Regions from separate parts of the Homo sapiens genome. Here region 1 is linked to region 2. Evidence: promoter capture Hi-C in human tissues and cell types (Jung and others, 2019). All regions are on one chromosome and are shown on one strand. Each heading gives the region's core, a stretch centred on a gene start or on the middle of the fragment in contact. The rest is flanking DNA. Distances are from core to core; before and after follow the strand shown. Region 1 overlaps CNBD1 (cyclic nucleotide binding domain containing 1). Region 2 holds the start of CNBD1 (cyclic nucleotide binding domain containing 1).

Region 1 (5,723 bases), core at 798-3,297, 95 kb after region 2:
TTCAGTCACTGATACCCTTTCTTCCACTTGATTGAATCGGCTACTAAAGCTTGTGCATGCATCACATAGTTCTTGTGCCATGGTTTTCAGCTCCATCAGGTCATTTAAGGTCTTCTCTATGCTGTTTATTCTAGTTAGCCATTCATCTAATCTTTTTTCAAGGTTTTTAGCTTCCTTGCGATGGGCTCAAACATCCTCCTTTAGCTCAGAGAAGTTTGTTATTACTGATCATCTGAAGCCTTCTTCTCTCCACTCGTCAAAGTCATTCTCCATCTAGCTGTGTTCCGTTGTTGGCGAGGAGCTTTGTTCCTTTGGAGAGAAGAGGGGCTCTGATTTTCAGAATTTTCAGCTTTTCTTCTCTGGTTTCTCCCCATCGTTGTTGTTTTATCTACCTTTGGTCTTTGATGATGGTGACCTACCGATGTGGCCAAATGGGAACAGCTCCAGTCTACAGCTCCCAGTGTAAGCAATGCACAAGATGGGTGATTTGTGCATTTCCAACTGAGGTACCAGGTTCATCTCACTGGAGCTTGTCGGATAGTGGGTGCAGCCCACAGAGTGTGAGCCAAAGCAGGGTGGGGCATCGCCTCACCCAGGAAGCACAAGGGGTCAGGGAATTCCCTTTACTAGCCAAGGGAAGCCATGACAGATAGTACCTGGAAAATCAGGACACTCCCACTCTAATACTGCACTTTTCCAAGAGTCTTAGCAAACGGCACACCAGGAGATTATATCCCGCTCCTGGCTCAGAGGGTCCCACACCCACAGAGCCTCACTCACTGCTAGCACAGCAGTCTGAGATCGAACTGCAAGGTGGCAGTGAGGCTGGGGGAGGGGCGTCCACTGTCACTGAGGCTTGAGTAGGTAAACAAAGTGGCCGGGAAGCTTGAACTGGGTGGAGCCCACCTCAGCTCAAGGAAGCCTGCCTACCTCTGTAGACTCCACCTCTCGGGGCAGTGCATAGCTGAACAAAAGACAGCAGAAACTTCTGCAGACTTAAACGTCCCTGTCTGACAGCTTTGAACAGAGTAGTGGTTCTCCCAGCACGGAGCTGGAGATCTGAGAATGGACAGACTGCCTCCTCAAGTGGGTCCCTGATCCCTGAGTAGCCTAACTGGGAGACATCTCCCAGTGGGGGCCAAGTGACACCTCATACAGCTGGATGCCCCTCTGAGACGAAGCTTCCAGAGGAAGGATCAGGCAGCAACATCTTCCATTCTGCAATATTTGCTGTTCTGCAGTCTCCGCTGGTGATACCCAGGCAAACAGGTTGTGGAGTGGACCTCCAGCAAACTCCAACAGACCTGCAGCTCAGGGTCCTGACTGTTAGAAGGAAAACTAACAAACAGAACAATTTTCAAAAGCCAAAGCAGTTTATGACCTTAAAGCCTTTCACCAACCTAGTTTCTGACTTGCATAATTTAGACCATGTCTACATTTTGAAGACATTTCTACTTTTATTTTACCAATAATTTTAAAGCTAGCCTGTTTATATATAGCAATATATGTTGTTATAACATATGACAGTAAGTGTACAAATAAACACATCTAGACATGTATACATACACAAATGAAGATCCAATAGCTTGGAACCCTAGCCATAAGATAGCACTACAAGCTTACCAGTTTTACTTTGTTTGCCCCAATAGACAATCCAATGAAGGCTGTGAACCAAAATTTCAGGTAAATTGGTTTCTATGACAGTTTGATTTTTAAAAGCCAAACTTCCCCAGACTCCAAAGAACACTGGGGCCAAACAGCACCAAAGGAGAACATCACAAGTTAAAACAGGCCCCCTGCTTAGAACAGCAGCACAAAACCCTGGATACATGCAATGCAATCTTACTTTCCTATTCAACAGTAAACTCCAGATTCCATACAATATTGGGGCCAAACAGTATTGTAACTGTGAGAGAAAATTCTAAGGAGGGTTTAGTACTAGACCTCAGAACCTCTGCCAAGGGCATCCCGTTTGGAGAGGTGGAGGTCCAGAGGATCCCCTGGGATGTCCCCCTGTGGGATCCAACCTTAGAGTGTCAGATGTCTCTGACCTTAGGTAGGCACTAGTGCTGCTTTGTCTTCTCCCTCCAGAGGCAATGGCCTACCACGATCTTTGTAAGGCCATGCTTTCTCAGGCTTCCTGTTCCACCAGAGTGACAGCCATGAAGTAAAAGGCATTGCAGCTTTATTTTTCTTTCAAAATAGTTGATCTAAGCACTTGATTTTCTTTAAGCCAATCAGAGCTCTTTTATATAAACATCATACACATAACACATGTGTAACTACACAGACTGAAGGAGATTCAGTACTTGTAAGATTTTTCATGTGCCAATCTCCTATTTGCATTGCTAACCCTAGGGGTGGAGCACTTCAAGAACCAGGTCTAGGAAAACATGCAGGCAGGTTCTATGGCCTAATAAGTAGGAATAGCTGGAAGACAAGAACAGATTTTGAGAGGGATACATCCACTTGTAATCCCTGGCACTCCATGAGGAAAACAGAGGTTTTTTTCAAAAATGAATCAATGATGCCTCCTTTGTTTTCCCAAGAAGTCCCAGGACTTCAGAGGTTATCTTGGGGCCCTTCATGTGTGCAATAAGAATGGTAAGACAAAAATGGAGACTAATTCAGTCGACTGATAAAACCTTTTTCCAGAAAAAGAAGATCCATGAGAAAAGACATACAGGCCTTTTAAATATACCTATAGCTTTGATAACCATGGACATCTACTTTTAAATAAGCTAACTTTTAACTATAGCACCCCTTTTTAAAGTCATTTTAAATCTCTTATTTCCTGACTTTAGCCATGCCAAATGGCCATTTGAATTCTTGGAGGGGCAGAGAATACAGTGATTTTTATCCTTCCTGCTACCAGTTTGCACAGAGAAAGAGAAGTCAGAGGCCGGGCACAGTGGCTTACACCTGTAATCCCAGCACTTTGGGAGGCTGAGGCGGGCACATCACGAGGTCAGGAGATCAAGACCATCCTGGCTAACACGGTGAAACACCGTCTCTACTAAAAATACAAAAAACTTAGCTGGGTGTGATGGCAGGTGCCTGTAGTCCCAGCTATTCGAGAGGCTGAGGCAGGAGAATGGCATGAACCTGGGAGGAAGAGCTTGCAGTGAGCTGAGATGGTGCCACGACACTCCAGCCTGGGCAACAGAGCAAGACTCCATCTCAAAAAAAACACAAAAAACAAAAAACAAAACAGAAGCTAGAAATCTGACTGGCAAGAACCTTTACCCTTTTGCTGGCATGTCAGGCTTCTGGGTTCCCTTCCCCTGAGACATGGAGTGCTTTGACCCTGGAGTCCTGTGAAGGGGAAAAAGCTATTTTCTTTCTCCAGCCTGAGGGTCAAAGGAGTCCAGTGATTTAGGATACACTTGAGGAGTGCAGGCTGAAAATGATTCACTGGTTACCCATCTGGAAAGAGGAGTAAAAGGCTTCCCTTTGTTCCTCTCTCTTCCTAGCGAATACCCGGGGTATGTGACAGGGAGAAAAGGCATCCCTCTTAATTATTTCGACCTTATATCCCTGAGTTCCGGTGACCTGTGCAGGTGCTGACCATGGGTGCAAGTGCAACCTTCACCCATGAAGTTGGAGGCATAGCTGACAGGCATGCACCTGAGCAGAGCCTAAGCCTCCCACTCTCCGTCACATTTGAGTTCCCTAGACCCTATCTATGCCATGTATGTAAGCATGATATTCCCATCCATGAAGCAGGAGGCCTAATTGTCAGGAATTAGTCATGCTCACCTGCACTGTGCCCTTCGACTCCCGCTGTCATCTGCCTCAGGTCTATTGTTCCATTCCAGGGCTTCAAACTGAAGCTTCGGAGAAAAAGGTGCCTCAGGGGGGTGTATGAACCCATTAAATTGGTCCCAGATAGCCCTTGCCAAATTGCAGCTAGCAACTGGCAGGGGCTGCTCTACCATTGCCTCCCTATCACAAGTAGGTGAAGCTGTGGGGCCAAGTCCTCCTCAAACAAGGGAGAGAGAAAGGGAGTCCCAGTAACTGGGGACCTGGCCTACGAAGGTGACAACTAAGAGATTGGGTTTTTCCTGAGATGCCCTTCACGGTCATGCTAAGAGAGGAGGCGGACCTAGGTTGGAGAAGAGAACTGAAAGGCCTGCTCAAGTCCAGGAGGAGGTCCAACCTCCTTTCCTTGATCCCTAGAATCACCCTAGCTCCTGGATGGCAATGACAGTCTGAACCACCAGAGTCAACGAAAGGAACCCTGGGACCAGTCAGTCCTGCTGCACCATTTGGGAGATGGCAATCTGGACCTTGCCACCCATGTCTCAGGGACAGTCTGCCCTCCAATGATCTACATTTGCAGCAGTTGACAGGTGCATTGTGAGGACTCTGAGGTTTGTGAGCCTGCAAGTTGGTTATTAGAGCCTCTGTCTTTTTCTTGTGTCTCCTTCCCTCTCTTGGGCCTCCCAATCCTATTTTAAAAGGCCAAGGTGGCCACTTCCAGAGGTCCTCTATAGTACTCTCTGGTCGTATGGCCTGTTTCTGTAGCTTCCTCCTGATATCAGGGGCTGAAGTCCCCTCTTAGATTTCTGAGGAAGGCAGTGGGACTCTCATCCAATCCCTGGTCTACCATGGATAGCCCAGTGCAATCAAGAGGTCTAGTCCCAGTCCCTTGCAAGCCATCCAATATGCACACCTGTAAGGGCTTCCTTTTCCATTCTCCCGTTTCATCATTGGGGTCCCATTTAGTGTTCTCCAATGGTACTGCTATTCTTCCAACTAGATAAGGCTCATCCCCTTCCCTGGTCCTATATAAGATGTAAAGCTTATCCTAAAAATTCTCTGCCACTTGCAGGGTGGCCTGCTTTTCAGCAGTGGTCAGGGTTTGATGCAAAAGTAACATGACATCCTTCCATGAGAGTTCAAATAGTTAGGTTAAGTTCTGGAAGGCCAATATATGCCTGTCAGGGCCATCTGAAAACCTGCTTGGATCCCCCTTAATTTGCTGTAAGCCCTGAAGAGAAAAGGGGACCCGAATCTAAATGGGACCGTGTTTACCACACATCTGTTGTAGGAGCAGGAGTGAGACTGGGACCTGCCTAAAATGACTTCTAAGATGAGGCAAGCTTGGAAGAGAACCTGGATAGGGAGGAGTGAAGGGAGCTGATTCCCCTGCTGAAGGTACCACTGGGGTTTGTTTCCCCAGTTCCCTGGGATTGACCCTTGCAGCCTCTCCTGAGATGGTCACTAGGAAGGCTGAATCAATCCCACAACGTTGGCAAAGATCTGGGTTACACTACAAGGCAAAGAAAAATAGTCCAAGGTCCCTTCACATAAGGGACGTTGGACTATTTGCCCTCGTGTTTATGGAAAAGCTTTCTTCTTGAGGCAATGCTTCTTTTCTGTGCCTCAAGGTGCTTAGACCTAAGTTGTCAACCAAGTAAATTACAAGAACATTTTTACCACAAGTTTACATACAGATACCAAGACATACTTTTCTTTGTCTGTGCTACTCTTAACCTTATATTATATACTTTCAATGACTAAGCCAAATGCTCATTCTACACAGTAGTATCTTTGTTTGGCAACATTCTTAACATTTTAATATTGTATATAAAAGAAGAACCATGACAGCATGAGAAAAAAGAAAGAAACAATAATAGGAAAGACTAAGGTCCTAGCGCGGACACCCTAATGGGCAGTCAGGGATTGGAATTAGTCCAGGGGCCTTTGGATAACACCAA
Region 2 (6,493 bases), core at 1,607-4,106:
TTCATAATATTTGTATGAGGTATTATCATTACCCCTGCATAGATCAGGATATTGAGGCCAAGGTGGATTAAGTGACTTCTCCAAGATAATTTTGTAAGTAAGTGGTTGGGAAACAATTAGACTTTACTGTCCAGGCATTGGTAAACAATGTAATACAGCTATCTCTCAAAGACAAATTGTGTGATTATGTTATTATTCTTTGAATGAATTTCAAAAGAATTCAGAATACATTGAAAAGCCTAGCAAAAAACATTTAGGAGAGCTGAATTTGTGATTTGATGGATTTTCTCTGGACATATATCAGCAGGTACTAGCAGATGCTCACACGCAATTATGAATATTACAGAGACTTAGATAAAATTCAGTAAGCTATTTTAGTTGTTTATTTTGCTATTTACTCCTTAATGTTCTTGTTTACTTGCATTGTCACTTCTCATTTTTTCTTTAAAATTATTTTCAAGCAAGGTCCAGGTTGATATGAACTACGATATTATATGGCATTCAGTGTGTAAAGTTTATTACATATGAAATACAGAAAAGAGAAAGGTGAAAATATGGAAAAGCAGGAAGATAACTAGAAAATAAATAAAAATAAGAACTGCTAACTTGGAATCAGAGAGGAAATCGGTCATCACAATTTTAGGGCCTTAGGAAACTTCCTCTCTTACATTTGTTTGATTAGAACTGTTCGTCAGAGAAAAAAAGCATTTTATATAGTCCCTTCTGCTTAACATCCATGAAAAATTCACGTCTTCATTTCTTTGGGTTTTAAATGTGCGACTAGGAAGAGAATGGATCTAGAAAACCTGTGGAATGATGGCAGTAGGGATTACCAACAAGGGGACAGTTGGAATGGCAAGGAACCATTCTGAAGTGGGAGCTAGGCAGGTGGCTAGTGTGGAAGGAATGCAAGATGAAGAATAGTGATGTGGCCGGGTGTGGTGGTTCATGCCTGTAATCCTAGCACTTTGGGAGACCAAGGCAGGCAGATCACCAGAGGTCGGGAGTTCAAGATCAGCCTGGCTAACATGGTGAAACCGTGTCTCTACTAAATATACAAAATCAGCTGGGCGTGGTGGCACCTGCCTGTAATCCCAGCTACCCGGGAGGCTGAGGCAGGAGAATCACTTGAACCCGGGAGGTGGAGGTTGGAATGAGTCAGAATTGAGCCACTGCACTCCAGCCTGGGTGACAGAGTGAGACTTGGTCTCCAGAAAAAAAAAAAACAATAGTGATGAGACTCAACAACAAAATTGAGTCTATGGTGAGTTTGGAGTTTGTAAAACTGGAAATAGGAAAATACATTCAATTGAAAAGTTATAACCTGAGTAAATTTATTGTGCAGATATAATTTAATAGAAACTGTTGCAAAATAAATTTGTTACTTTTGTAACATAATTAATGTTTTCTATTCTAGTTATTAATGTTATCTAGATGAAGTTGCTCCAGAAATGGTTGGTTTACACTCTGCTAGTCCAGTTCAGGTATCAGACAGCCACAGTCCTTTTGTATATTACCTGATGAAATGGGGGAGTTCCCTGATTCCCCTCACAGAATGTGTGACAGGGCTGTGGTTTGCCTGCTTGGTTGGTCATCGCTGCTGCTCAAACCCTGTGGGGAGGGGGAGCACACAGACGGACAGGTGCAGGAGCCCAAGTGGGCATTGTGTTGCAGTGTGCCCTTGTAGCCCTACCCTCCATGGATGGCTTGATGTTAACAAGCTCAATGGACCCTCTGCCTTTTCACAAGGGTAGAGGGCCAGTGTGATAGCTTTCTGTATCCTGAATTCTTGCCCAGCATCCCAGAAGTACTGGGTCACACATGGGCTTGAAGGAAGAACTCAGGGTTTTATTGAGTGGTGGAGGTGGCTCTCAGCAGGATGGATGGGGAGCTGGAAGGGGGATGGAGTGGGAAAATGATCTTCCCCTGGAGTTTGGCCGTACAGTGGCTGAACTCCTCTCAGTGTTCAGATGTTCCTCCTTTTCTCACTTTCTCTGCCTGTCATTCTGCCATTCATCTATTTGTCTCATCTCTTCGTCTGCTTCTGGAGCCTGGGATTCAGGGTTTATATGGGTACAGGATAGGGTGTGTTGCAGGCCAAAAGGCAACTTTTTAGGTGCAAAAACAGGAATGCCTGTCCCAATCTAGGGCCGCAGGTCTCCAGGCTTGAGGGTGGGGCCTTTACTGGGGAACTGCCCTCTTCTACCCAGTGTTTCCCTGTCTCCTGTCCGTATCACTCTAACAGTTATGATACCAGGACCCTATTTCTAAAGGCCTTGGAAGATAATACACAGCATCAAAAGATACATTAGTTAGGATTGTAAACCCTAGCCATTGTAACTATCCTTAATTATTGTGAAGCAGCAGAAAATAACAAAAAAACATGTTCCACACTCTAGCAGAATATAGTTAAATGTAAGCTGGGGTGGGTTTATTGGTGTATGATAATTAGAAGGGATGGTTTACCCTATAAATGTGGCCATGAAGAACAGTATAAATATGCTATCTCTGTTACTGCTGGTACAGAAAGGGCCTGTGATACCCAGTGTAAACATTTGGTAGGCAGGAAAAGGGCTCTGGACTATGGAAGACCAAGGAAGTGAATACTTTCATTTCACCTAGACTCATGAGTGCTGTTGATTCTGCTGTATCAGCCTTGTGGGCTACAGTTTCCTTCTTCATTATTGCTACTCTCTATAGCTCATAAAGTCCTCCTTATGATTTCCACTGGACTAAAATGTAGCATAGTTCTTCCTGGTCTAGATGACACTCTTGGAAATGCACAAACAATGGATAAGAACTATGAACAAGAAGATTCCGTAGGATTCAACCTATCAGAGAGGACCTTGAAGTTCTGCTTTATGAGCCTGCAGGCAAAGAGTGATCATTTGCCTCTCAAGCAGCCTCTGGTCATCTATCTGCCTTTGAGCCATCAAGATGCCGATGTCTTCTCTTCCAGCAGCTATTTTGTCTCACATGACAGCTATTAACAATGTGCCTCCTCCTCCACTTCACAGTATACCAAGTGAGTGGGAAATACTTTGATGCTCTTATTCACCTACCATTGTTTTCAGCGGTTCTTACCCCAGCTATGAAAATTGGGGGTATTTCAGGGTTGATAGGGACATTGGGAATCTTATTGACAGTGCTGAAGAATGGAAAGAACATAGATGTGTAAATCCTGCTTGGTCTACTTGAAGTCATTTCAGTACTCTAGGTCTTAAGTATTTTTTCTCTGTAAAATGAGGATCTTTACGAACTCTTAGAGCTTCAGATACATTGAAATATTTCTAAAGATGAAAGAAAACAAAGATTTAGAGAGGCCACATGTTCCACCAGCTATCAGGTTCCTTTTTCTAGCAGATCTTCTACTCCCTACCAAGAGTTGGTCCTACTACGCTTAATGGGATAATTAATACTTAATATTCTCTAGGAGAATTCTCATTTCAATTTGACAAGGAAAAAAAGATAATTCCTACTATTCTGACTGTGAAATTTATTCCTATTTAACTTTTTTATTTTCTAGTCTTACTTATAAGAATTAAGTATAGAACTAGATATTTCAAAGTTTATATAATTGACAGTATTTTCTCATTTTATGTAATTAGTCTAAACCTATAACGTTTTCTTAAGATTGTAAACACTTCTCATGGCCATCGAATTTATAAGATCTATTATTTGAACACCATCATTCTGACTAGCAATATGTATGAGTTCCAGTGTTAGTTAAGATTTTTAAAAAATATCTGGATAACAAAGGTAATACTTGTGATCCTTTTCAACTTCAATAAAGCATTAACTCTTATTTTATTATTCATTGGGCAGATTTATAGTATTGATTTGAAGAAGCTAAGCCATCCATCCTTTTCCCTTCCTGTGAAAGTTAATTTCTCCAAATACATTTTAAAAAATTAATGCTCATAGTCTCCAGGTTAAAAGGTATAACAGGTGGCAGTTGATACTCCTTGAAGGGGTACACTGATGTCTTGAATAGTGTTAGACAAAATCCTTATGTTAAACAAAATTAATTCCATTTGTATTATAGTGAAAATAATCTTGCATCTGGTCAAAGTTTTCTATTTCTACTTGAGTGGAAATAAGAATTAAGTGCAATTTTGCTGAAGAAACACAGCTTCTACTATTCATGTTTTATTTGTGAAAAAGAAAATAAAAGTCACCATAAAATAATATTTTTAAAAAGCCCAGGAAACTCGGTAGCTGGGAGTTAAAAGATCAAATTAATTTAGAATCAATGAGATGAGATTTGTGCTACCCTCTGTAGTGCCTCCCAAGGACACTTAACTTCTGTGAAGTGATTAAAAGACGAAAAATCAGCAGCAATTTAGATCTCAGAACTGAATAGAGCATAATGGAAAGCGGTGGAGCTCCCAGTGTTCCTTTAGAGGTTCGCACTTGATGTTTCTATGTCTGCAACTTCTCTTTGAGGACGTGCCCTGCTTGCCTTAATAACTGTGTCTTTTTGCTAACTGTAGCAAGACAATAATTTTCCTTAGCAAGCACTGATTGTCTCACTGCTGAAACAATGATCTCATGGAAGCCAATGTGTAATGAATGCTTTCAATTTATGAAATGACTGAACCTGAATTACAAAGGATATATAAATGAGTTTTAAATGCAGTGGGCATAAATAGGAATGCACATTTACATACCTAAAAAGAAAATCCAGCCATTGTATACATCCTTGATACTTTGTATTTGTTGAGTTAGGTTGGATTTAGTGACTCATATTCACCTTCTCTGTAAGTATTTATTTATTTATTTATTCATTTTTATTTATTTTTGAGATGAAGTCTTGCTCTGTTGCCCAGGCTGGAGTGCAGTGGCACGATCTCAGCTCACCACAACCTCCGCCTCCTGGGTTCAAGCGATTATCCTGCCTCAGCCTCTTGAGTAGCTGGGACTACAGGTGTGCCTGGCTAATTTTTGTATTTTTAGTAGAGATGGGGTTTCACTGTGTTGGCCAGGCTGGTCTCTATCTCCTCACCTCGTGATCTGCCCCCCTCAGCCTCCCAAAGTGCTAGGATTTACAGGCGTGAGCTACCACGCCCCGGCTGTCTGTATTTATATGTGAATATTGTTAATTGAGTGCTTTCTGTAGTTAGTATGTAAACATTTAGCACGTTATGTTATTTCATGTATTTCTTACAAGAACTCTATGTCTTCGGTGGACAGAATTAACGGTCCCAGTGATATCCATGCCTTAATTCACAAAACTTATGAATAGGTTATACTACATGTTAGGGGGAATTGAGGCTGCACATGCAATTAAAGCAGCTAATTGGCTCCACTTGAGATGGGAGAATATTCCGGTTTGTCTGGGTACCAGCCACAATTGTGAGAGCCCTTATAAGCAAAAGAGGAAGGCGAGAGAGTCAGAATGATATGTGAGAAAGACTCGACTGGCCCTTGCTGGCTTTGAAGATGGAGGGGGGACAAAAGCCAAGGAATTCAGGCAGCCTCTAGAAGCAGGGAAAGGCAAAGAAATGGATTCTCCCCTAGCGTCTCCAGAAGAATTGCAGTCCTGCTGATGTGATTTTAGCCCAGTGAAATCAGGTTCAGAGTTCTCATTTCCAGAACTGTTAGATAATACGTTTTTATTTTTTTAAGCCACTAAGGCAGTGGCAATCTTTTACAGCAGCAATATAAAATTAATACGTGTTCCAGTTTACACTTAAGGATAATAAGGCTTAGGTTTCATACTAAGGTTCACACAGATGTTAAGTAGCAGAGGCTCCTCGTAGCGTCATCTGTGTAAACAAACTCTACTCACAACAACAACAAAGCTGGCAGCATTCCGGGTTGCCCCTTACCTCCTGCCCTGAATTTCTTGCCCATTTGGCTACTTAAATGCTATTAATATATGGGAGGCAACATGTCACACATCTTCAAACCCTCCTCCACTGCTATCTTGTTGACTCTGAAATTCAGACTCAGACACTTCAAGTAGTTAAGCTTCTTGAGCTAGTTTGCTGCTTGTGGTTCTTTCTTCTTTGAAACTTTCAAGTCTTTTCCTTCTCTGGTCTCTTTGACTTCTGTCTCAGGATTCTTCACAGTTTGCTAACCTTAAGGGAGGAATGAATGTTCTCAAAAGCAGAAGAGCTGTTCCACTTTTCATTCTGGATGAGAATTATTTTAAAAACATCATAGCTAACAAACTGTACAGTTTTACCACCTAAGTGAAATGGCATCTGGTTTAAGTACACACATGACCCATTATTTTTATAAGTTGATTTCCTGAAGAGATAGAAAAAAAGAAAAAAAAATTCTTATTTTAAAAAATTTTTAATGGAAGGCAAGAAGCTGTCCTTCACCGTTTGGTTTATGGTCCAGTTAACTTCCTTTGTTGGGATAAATTTGCTGCTACTCTATTTTCTTCACACTAATTAGGCTTATTCTTCTGAGGAAGAATGGGTTTAAAAATATGCTTTACATTTTGACTACTGGTTGACTTGAAAAAAAAATTTCTGTGCTT

What was found. The method cuts DNA at HindIII sites, captures the fragments that hold promoters and counts their contacts. A contact is called where the count stands out against the background at its distance.
Region 1: a fragment that was not itself captured here is called in contact with the fragment with the promoter of CNBD1 in region 2 in 3 of the 25 tissues and cell types used here (liver, pancreas and spleen).

What each region holds. Positions count from the first base shown.
Region 1 is chr8:86,959,604-86,965,326 of GRCh38, forward strand. All of the region lies in intron 4 of CNBD1 (cyclic nucleotide binding domain containing 1), which reads left to right. Among named protein-coding and RNA genes, the nearest start is that of CNBD1, 96 kb to the left of the region's middle. The HindIII fragment of the contact is 4,541 bases long and covers 1-4,318 here.
Region 2 is chr8:86,863,559-86,870,051 of GRCh38, forward strand. It overlaps CNBD1 (cyclic nucleotide binding domain containing 1), which reads left to right and starts at 2,857. Exons shown (of 11, transcript NM_173538.3): 1 at 2,857-3,025. The coding sequence starts at 2,938. The HindIII fragment of the contact is 15,353 bases long and covers 1-6,493 here.